3 separate regions of the Homo sapiens genome follow, and regions 1 and 3 are each linked to region 2. The links are contacts of gene promoters, found by promoter capture Hi-C in blood cells and fetal thymus (Javierre and others, 2016). All regions are on one chromosome and are shown on one strand. The core of a region is centred on a gene start or on the middle of the fragment in contact, and the rest is flanking DNA. Distances in the headings are between cores, read along the strand shown. Region 1 overlaps DST (dystonin). Region 2 holds the start of BAG2 (BAG cochaperone 2). Region 3 overlaps LINC00680 (long intergenic non-protein coding RNA 680).

What was found. Contacts are between HindIII fragments. The CHiCAGO score rates a contact against its expected background, and 5 or more counts as called.
Region 1: a contact is called between a fragment that was not itself captured here and the fragment with the promoter of BAG2 in region 2, in 1 of 17 cell types (erythroblasts). The highest score is 7.0, in erythroblasts.
Region 3: a contact is called between a fragment that was not itself captured here and the fragment with the promoter of BAG2 in region 2, in 4 of 17 cell types (non-activated CD4 T cells, naive CD8 T cells, total CD8 T cells and 1 more). The highest score is 9.3, in non-activated CD4 T cells.

Annotation. Positions count from the first base shown.
Region 1 is chr6:56,511,519-56,514,684 of GRCh38, forward strand. The region is part of intron 72 of DST (dystonin); the gene reads right to left. Among named protein-coding and RNA genes, the nearest start is that of COL21A1, 270 kb to the left of the region's middle. The HindIII fragment of the contact is 525 bases long and covers 1,044-1,568 here.
Region 2 is chr6:57,170,839-57,173,621 of GRCh38, forward strand. BAG2 (BAG cochaperone 2) reads left to right here and starts at 1,488. Exons shown (of 3, transcript NM_004282.4): 1 at 1,488-1,972. The coding sequence starts at 1,860. ZNF451-AS1 (ZNF451 regulatory antisense RNA 1) reads right to left here and starts at 1,375. Exons shown (of 4, transcript NR_110742.1): 1 at 1,236-1,375; 2 at 167-260. RefSeq lists silencers at 1,501-1,580, 1,631-1,900 and an enhancer at 1,635-2,392. The HindIII fragment of the contact is 6,211 bases long and covers 1-2,783 here.
Region 3 is chr6:57,954,093-57,957,225 of GRCh38, forward strand. The region is part of intron 2 of LINC00680 (long intergenic non-protein coding RNA 680); the gene reads right to left. It also overlaps the pseudogene LINC00680-GUSBP4. Among named protein-coding and RNA genes, the nearest start is that of LINC00680, 5.8 kb to the right of the region's middle. The HindIII fragment of the contact is 2,494 bases long and covers 30-2,523 here.

The DNA of each region.
Region 1 (3,166 bases), core at 56-2,555, 660 kb before region 2:
GGCATTTAACACATGATGGCTCATACAGCTCTTTGCCAGGAAGAGAAGGTCCTGACACAAAGATTAAACAACAGTCTGGTCACACCAAAGACCCTTTAGGGTACAAAGATGCTGGTTCAGTGAAATAATGAATCCCAGTTTATTATGCATCTCATACCAAGAGTAGCACATTTTGACAAGAGCATTAGCCTAGGGTCATATTATATAAAAGTATTCTGAACTCGCTATGTCCCCAACCTACAGACACCAAGTCATATCTGATGGTGTTCCTTTCTGCACACTCATGATATATACAAAAATAGAAGAAAGAAAAAGAGAGAGAGAGAGAGACAAGACGGGGGGAAGGAGGGAGAAGGGAAGGAAGAAAAAAGAATAGAAAGAAGCTCAATATAAGTTAGATGCAATGCTGAGACAAAACCTCAAGATAAGGAATGTTAGGGTGATGTAAGCCCACAAGGCATTGCATTTATATATGCGGACTGATATAAAATGAATGAACATGTATTACATTTTATATTTATGTATGAATCTATTCTATATATATATGATATATAGACACACATATGAATGAATCTATATTCATTATTTTAAAATATTAAAGGCTGCAAGGGCAATCTATCAATACACAGCTATATACTGAGCATTGTTTGTAAGGTATATTTAAGGAAAAACACATGTCATATGAATGTGCATAATTTTGCTAGCTAATCAAGAAATACAATGATATTTATACTAGTGCGTGGGTGTAGAATTCAAGTGGATCCCCATTCCCTTTAATAGAGAAGATGTGTTGGAAGCCTGAATAAAGCTAGAATACATACACCTCATGGATCCCATGGATTTCAATGAGCAGTTTTTCATGGGTCAAAACCAAAGCCACCCCCAGGGGGAAGATCTGCCTTTGCTTGCAGGTTTTTCTGAGGCTGGCCTCTGTGCAGCATTGAGGGGTCTTTCATTTGCACCACATTATTGATTAGGTTCCCTCATCAGCAGCTCTTTGTCCTCACCAGAATGTGTATCTCCAAACTCCAGCCCCTCACAAAAGCTTCTCTGGGGAATCTTACTTTCAGGAAAGATGGTCTAGAGATAAGCTACCAATCTTTTCCTGCAAACTCTAATTTCTATCAGTCACCAGGATGGCCACATACCTAGATTTTTATTGAAAGTGTCTACTAAAATCAATTATGAGCATTATTTTGAGAACCTGTTGAGGAATTACATCATTAACTATCACCAATGTAATAAAATGTTTTTGAAGGTTTTCAAAAGACTGCCTCAAAATAGTTTTAGAAAGGGCTAAATAAAGATGAATTCAATTTTAAAAGAAGGAAGAGTCTAATATAGCATGCTGCACATAAGAATGTGGGAGGGCCATGTTTGCAATCTAGCTCCTGGGCGTCCCAGGCCAAGTTTTTATTTTTATTTGGCATAATTAGGTATCTTCATGCTGCTTTACCGAATGGAGGTGGTGATGGTATATCAGCTATAGATAATCTCATGGAAAAGGAAAACTGAAGATGTTACATACGTTCTCCTGTCAATGTTCTTTCAGGAATGCTTGGAAAACAAGCTTTCACTCAAGAGTTATCAAGAGACTCTCAAATAAAATGCTACATCTCTGCTGATATTTCTGGAGTTCCTTTGGGTCTAGGTAGATCTCACCTGTATAGCATCACTATAAGGCAACTTGGCTTGGCAAGTAGTGAGAGGAGCCTTTTTTTTTTTTTTTAAGACAGAGTTTTGCTCTTGTTGCCCAGGCTGGAGTGCCGTGGCACGATCTTGGCTCACCACAACCTCCGCCTCCCAGGTTCAAGTGATTCTCCTGCCTCAGCATGCCAAGTAGCTGGGATTATAGGTATGCACCACCATGCCCAACTGATTTTGTATTTTTAGTAGAGATGGGGTTTCTCCATGTTGGTCAGGCTGGTCTCGAATTCCTGACCTCAGGTGGTCCACCTGCCTCGGCCTCCCAAACTGCTGGGATTACAGGCGTGAGTCACCACATCTGACTAATTTTGTATTTTTAGTAGAGGCAGGGTTTCTCCATGTTGGTCAGGCTGGTCTCAAACTCCCGACCTCAGGTGATCCACCTGCCTCGGCCTCCCAAAGTGCTGGGATTACAGGCATGAGCCACTGTGCCTGGCCGAGGAGCCTTTTTTAAACCCTTCTTAAACCATTCCATGACAGGCAAGAGAACACCTACCAGCCATCTACTCAGGTATGTGTGTGTATCAGAAAAGGGCCCAAAAGGAGATGCCTTTTGCCTTATATGTGACAAAATGATTCTTGGCACATGCTGTCATAGGAGTCCAGTCATGCTGGAGCTATCTGGTGTGACTTGATATCTATCATGTGGTAACATGGCCCTTGGAGCCATTTTTCATTCCTGGCTAGAATGAACTAGATTTTCCCCCAAAATACATGGAGAAGATGCTGTAGAGCTGGAAAAGAAATGCCATCCTAGGAGGCTACAAATATTCTGCAACAGCAAAGCTTTTAGTTTAAACAATTTGAAGATGTGGCTACAAAGTTTTGTACCTCCCTTTATACAGACAATCACAAATTTGTTTTGAGAGCTTAAAGATTATGCAAAAAGGCAAAAAAACTCAATTTTTAAAATTTCAGCTCAATAATGAGCCTTTCCATACTATTTGATGCTATGCTAAAAATGTGGCTATTCAAATCACCTCAGCATAGAAATCCATGAAACATTTTTCATTTAAAATAATTCAGTAAGTAGATATCAGATTTCTGCCACAAATAAATCTTTATACAAAAATTGAATTCTACATACTTGTCTTTCTCCTGCTGAATCATTTAGATAGAACTCCATAAGATTCCTGTTCTATATTAAATAAAGTTAAAGTGTGGTCTCTAAAACTCTCTTTTAAATAAATACTTCAGTATAGTCTTCAATGCCAATTCATTAAAAAGGTAAACAAACAAGATTAACAAGATGTCACATATTCCAAACAATGATGTAATAAACCCTGAATTGAACTTTTCCCTCCCTTTCTCTCTCTCCCTCTCTCCCTCCTTCTCTCTTGGGCACAGGCGTATACACACACACACACACACACACACACACACACACCCCCTCATGCGCATACACACACACATGCACACCATGATTAGTCTCAGAGTACATTCTGTACAGATCTGGAAG
Region 2 (2,783 bases), core at 238-2,737:
ACTTTGAGGTAAGGAGCCAGTGAAGGTTTCTGAGAATAAATGGTATGATCTGCCTTATTTAGGATTGCTGTAGTTGCTGCACTGAGATAACATGTACATGAGAGGCAAGAGTAGAAGCAGGGAGACCAGAGAGGAAGGTATTGTAGTATTCCAGGTGCAAACTCACCAGGTAGCTTGAACCAGAATGGTGGCGGTAGAATTGGGAAGAATCTGGATATATTCTGAAGGCAAAATTGATGGGGTTTACTAATGGTGTGGATCTAGGATAAGAGAGAAAAAGAGTTCAGGATGATTCTAAAGTCACTTGATAGACTTTCAAACCACTCACAAAATGTGTTTTGTTTTCGTTTGTGTCATGATAAAGTTATTTTTAATAAGGTCAAATAATCCCCTACCCCAAGAGTTAATTAGGATTTAAAATGAGTTCAGAGGGAATTGGGATCCAGCCTTAAGGGCTTCAACTCTGTTCAAGTATTTAAATGGCTTTGATCTCTGATTAAAGGTGGTGGCTCAGCTTTAAACTATTATTATCTATCATTTTCTGTGCCCTGTACATTGTCATCCTTGCAATGAGAGGCATAGAGCTATCAGGAGAGGGGACTAAAGCCTAACTTTTTAAGTAGACTAATCTTTGTATCCTCAGCTCTATTCCGTCTTTTACCGACAGCTGGTGCCTGACCTAGAGGCCTACTGCATCTTTTTTGTTAACAGGATTTTTAAAAGTTGAGGACTTTTTAATGCCAATTATTTCACTCAGAATATTTATTTATTTATTTATTTTTTTGAGACAAGGTCTCGCTCTATCGCCCAGGCTGGAGTGCAGTGGCGAGATCTCGGCTCGCTCAACAGGAATAATTTTAATAGCAAAAATTTAAAACCCCTTCATTAAGCCAGGCGTGGTGGTTCACATCTGTAATCCCAGCACTTTGGGAGGCTGAGGTGGGAGGACCGCTTGAACCCGGGAGGTCGAGGCTGCAGTAAGTCGTGATCGCGCCACTACACTCCAACGTGGGCGACAGTTAGACCCCATCTCAAAAACAAAAGAAAATTAGAATGGTAAAAATGAAGTAAATTCACTTTGCTTCCCACATCTAGCTAGACAGGGAAAGATGGAGTAGCTTTTTCTTTTTTACTTCATAGCTTCAGTGTTGTCCGGGCTTTCATTACTCTCATCTCAGTATAAAGTGGTAACAGGAAGGTCAGGTGAGTGTGGGCTGCCTACGAGCTGTACTTACTGCCTTCTGTTTCACAAAAGGACGTTTTCTCCCCATAATGTCGTTGTTCTTGCTTTGAATTATGGGTGCTGGGAGAAACTAAACGAAGCCGTCACTGAGCAATACACCCACAGCCCGTCGACCGATAGGAACCTTCGCGTGGGGGGAGTTGGTTACTTTTAGGTTGCATGAAGAGGCGGGGCCTCGCGGGGCGGAGCTGGGGGTGGTCTGTGGGTCCGCGCGGGCTTCGGGTAGTTCCTGGGTCCGGGGAGCAGACGATCCGCTAGCCACATTAGGCGCTCGGTCTCTGCGTCCGCCCCTCCCGTGCCTCAGAGACTTGCGCTCCCCAGGCCCGAGCCCCTGTCGGCCCATCCTCGAGCCCGTGTGGCTCGCGAACCTCTAACTCCAGCCGCTGCAGCCCCCTCCCAGGCCCGGCGTCCCCGAGCCCCGCGGGCGCCGCGCCTGCCCTTCTTTGGCTACGCTGCAGCCGCGGTGTCGGCGAGTCCTCCCGGGTTGCCCCCGCGGGCGTCAGAGGGAGGGCGGGCGCCCGCGTGGTGACGGCGACGCCTGCAGCCCAAGGAGCGCTCCACTCGCTGCCGCCGGAGGGGCCGGTGACCTCTTGGCTACCCCGCGTCGGAGGCTTAGATGGCTCAGGCGAAGATCAACGCTAAAGCCAACGAGGGGCGCTTCTGCCGCTCCTCCTCCATGGCTGACCGCTCCAGCCGCCTGCTGGAGAGCCTGGACCAGCTGGAGCTCAGGTGAGCTCCGGGCGGGCGGTCTCGGGCGTTCTGCTCGCCGCGCGGGCGGTTCGCGGGCGGTTAGCGGACGGAGGCCGCGTGTGGCGGGCCGGGGCCTGGGGCACAGTGAGGCTGCGGCAACCGAAGTTGCTTGTTGAGATTTGTTGTGGATGGACGTGGTGTAGTTTTGTTTGTTTCTTGGATTATCTCCCCTAGTCCGAGAGAAAACGCATTCGATTTAAGCTAAACCTGTGAGGGCGTTATCGGTGGCCACACTTTGATTAATTTACCTAGGTGTTAGGGAGCGGAAAAAAATCAGAGGAGATAAAAGTTACAGTGAGATTCCATGCGATTAAGGACTGTGGCAGCTTGGGTCTGCAGAACTTCTAGAACCTTCTGTGTGGCCCCAAACGTTTTAACTTACTCTTCTCGTTATGCATTTTTTAAGGGAGGCAGCAGTTTACAGTGGCCCTCCACGTGAAGTTAAGTTTCCTTGCTTCAGAACAAAAATGAATAAAACAAAACCAACCCAGCAATCCATTGAGAGCAAAGATTAGACAGGAGTGAGGGGTAGGCAGTAAGTTACCGGGTGCTTCGTGCAGCAGAGACGTTGCCGCTTCTGTTTCTCCCCTAACCTCGCGGACGGGATTCAGCGGTTCCGTTCGTCTCTCGGTATTTATTGGGCACCTCCCTACATAGAAGACTAAGTGCTAGTTACTGGCCTGAAAGCATGAAAAGATAGTTTTCCCCTTTTCTTGCTTAAGAATTTATTTGGTAATACAGTAGTAGACTTGTATAGAATTTCTAAACAATTTAATGTTAATAGATTTTT
Region 3 (3,133 bases), core at 27-2,526, 780 kb after region 2:
AATTGAAAATAAAAAAATTAAAAATAAAAAGCTTCACTTTGGGAGGTTGAGGCAGGCGGATCACTTGACTTCAAGAGTTTGAGATCAGCCTGGCCAACATGGTGAAACCCTGTCTCTACTAAAAATACAAAAGTTAGTCAGGTGGTGGTGGCACGTGCCTATAATCCCAGCTACTGGGGAGGCTGAGGCAGGAAAATTGCTTGAACCAGGAGGCAGAGGTTGCAGTGAGCCTAGATTACACTATTGCCCTCCAGTCTGGGCAACTCAAAAAAATAAATAAGTAAATAACAACAAAAAGCCGACATAGCCAAATAAGACAATCCTTGTTCAAAACATGTTGTATTATATGCTTAAAATGGCAAATACAAGGTACCTATACTGTGATAGTACAAACATTCACTAAATTGTTTAAAACATTTGTAAATGCCTCAGATAGCATGTCTTTGTCTATCGTTTGAGGATATTAAAATTGTTTTTTGATGTGATGATATTGTGGCATAATATGAAATATATTTGGCCAGGTGCGGTGGCTCACTCCTGTAATCCCAGCACTTTGGGAGGCTGAGGGGGGCGGATCATGAGGGCAGGAGATCGAGACCATCCTGGCTAACAGGGTGAAACCCTGTCTCTACTAAAAATACAAAAAAAAAAAAAAAAAATTAGCCAGGCATGGTGCCCGGTGCCTATAGTCCCAGCTACTCAGGAGGCTGAGACAGGAGAATGGCGTGCACCCGGGAGGCGGAGCTTGCAGTGAGTCGAGATCACACCACTGCACTCCAGTCTGGGCGACAGAGCGAGACTCTGTCTCAAAAATATATATATATATTTGGTCTTTGTTTCAGGTTCCTGCCACACAGCTTCTGAAACCCTTGGAATTTCCTGAGTGATAGGAGCTGTCTTTTGTTATTCATTAGAAGCCCCTTTGGATCCCACCTAAATTTATGCTATTGAAGTGACTTAGTGTGGGATCCCTAGGCCTCAGGATGGGACTGCTGCTCACTAAAAAAACTGACGGGTTAGATAATTGGAACTTTCATCCCCACCCACCAATCTCTGGGGAAGCTGGAAATTAAGATCTATAGAAATTTTTTTTTTTTTTTTTTTTTTGAGACAGGCTCTTGCTTTTTTACTCAGGCTGTGATGCAGTGGCATGATCATAGCTCACTGCAGCCTCAACCTCTGGGCTCAAGTGACCCTCTCACCTCAGCCTCCCAAGTAGTTGGGACTACAGGTGTGCGCCGCCATGCCCAGCTAATTTTTATAAGATTTTTTGAACGGGATCTCACTGTGTTAGCCCAGGTTTGTCTCAAACTCCTGGGATCAAGTGATCCTCCTACCTTGGTCCCCCAAAGTGCTGGGATTATAGGTGTGAGCCACTGCACCCAGCCTAGACACTCCTGAACCACTAGATGTGATTAGCTTCAGGGTAGTTGAACACAGGGGGATGCTGGGGAGTTGGTGCACCCAGAGAGGGCACAGAAGCTCTGCACCTCTCCCACCGCATACCTTGCCCAATGCATTACTTCATCTGGCTGTTCATCTGTATCATTTATAATATTCTTTATAATAAACTGTTAAACATAAGTAAAGTGTTTCCCTGTGAGCCGTCCTAGCTAATTATCAAAGCAAAAAGAGTGGTCATGGGAACCCTGACTTATAGCCAGTAGATTAGAAGCACTGGTCACAACCTGTGAATTGAGATTAGTGTCTGAGTGAAGGCAGTCTTGTGGTAGTCTCCAGGCAGACGGTGTCAGAATTAAAGTGAGTTACCGGATACCCAGTTGGAGAACTGGTTGATGTGTGGGGGAAAACTCCTACATATCTGGTGTCAGAAATAAAGTACTGGTTCACACCTGTAATCCTAGCACTTTGGGAGGCCAAGACAGGTGGATCACTTGAGCCCAGGAATTCAAGACTGGCCTGGACAACATGGTGAATTTTTTTTTTTTTTTTTGAGACAAGAGTCTCACTCTGTCGCCCAGGCTAGAGTGCAGTGGCAAGATCTCGGCTCACTGCAAGCTCTGCCTCTGGGGTTCACGCCATTCTCCCGCCTCAGCCTCCCAAGTAGCTGGAACTATAGGCACCCGCCACCACACCCAGCTAATTTTTTGTATTTTTAGTAGAGACGGGGTTTCACCATGTTAGCCAGGATGGTCTCAATCTCCTGACCTCGTGATCCGCCCCTCCCAAAGTGCTGGGATTACAGGCATGAGCCACCTCACCCAGCCAACATGGTGAAATCTATCTCAACTAAAAATACAAAAAATTAGTGGGGTGTGGTAGCACCAACCTATAGTCCCAACTATTTGGGAGGCTGAGGTGGGAGGATTACCTGAGCCCGGGAAGTGGAGTCTGTAGTGAGGCAAGGTCATGCCACTGCGCACCTGTCTAAGCAACAGCAGTGAGACCCTGTCTCAAATTTAAAAAAAAAAAAAAAAAAAAAAGGAGGGGAAAGTACTGAGAGGAGTGTGAGAGGATAGGAAACAACTTGGTTTTTCCTATCTCTTACACATATCTTGGCTAAGCTTTTTTTAAAACAATCCTTATCGTTTTAAGGTATATACAAAAATATTTATGAGTAAAATGATGTCCAAGATTTGCTTCGAAATCATCTGAAAGGGGAAACAGAAGTAACGCTAGCCATGAACTGTTACAGTAGTTAAATCTGATTGATAGGTACATGGTAGTTCGTGACTATACTTCCGTGTTTGAAATTTCACATAATAATGAAGGGTTTTGCTGGGTGCAGTGGCTCACACCTGTAATCCCAGCATTTTGGGAGGCCAAGGTGAGTGGATCACGAGGTCAGGAGATCGAGACCATCCTGGCTAACATGGTGAAACACCATCTCTACTAAAAATACAAAAACAAAATTAGCCAGGCGTGTTGGCAGGCACCTGTAGTCCCAGCTACTCCAGAGGCTGAGGCGGGAGAATGGCGTGAACCCGGGAGGCGGAGCTTGCAGTGAGCCAAGATCACACCACTGCACTCCAGCCAGGGCGACAGAGTGAGACGCCATCTCAAAAAAATAACAATAATAACAATAATAATAATGATGGGTTTTGGCCTGGCATGGTTGTTCACACCTGTAATCCCAGCACTTTGGGAGGCCGAGGCAGGCGGATCACCTGAG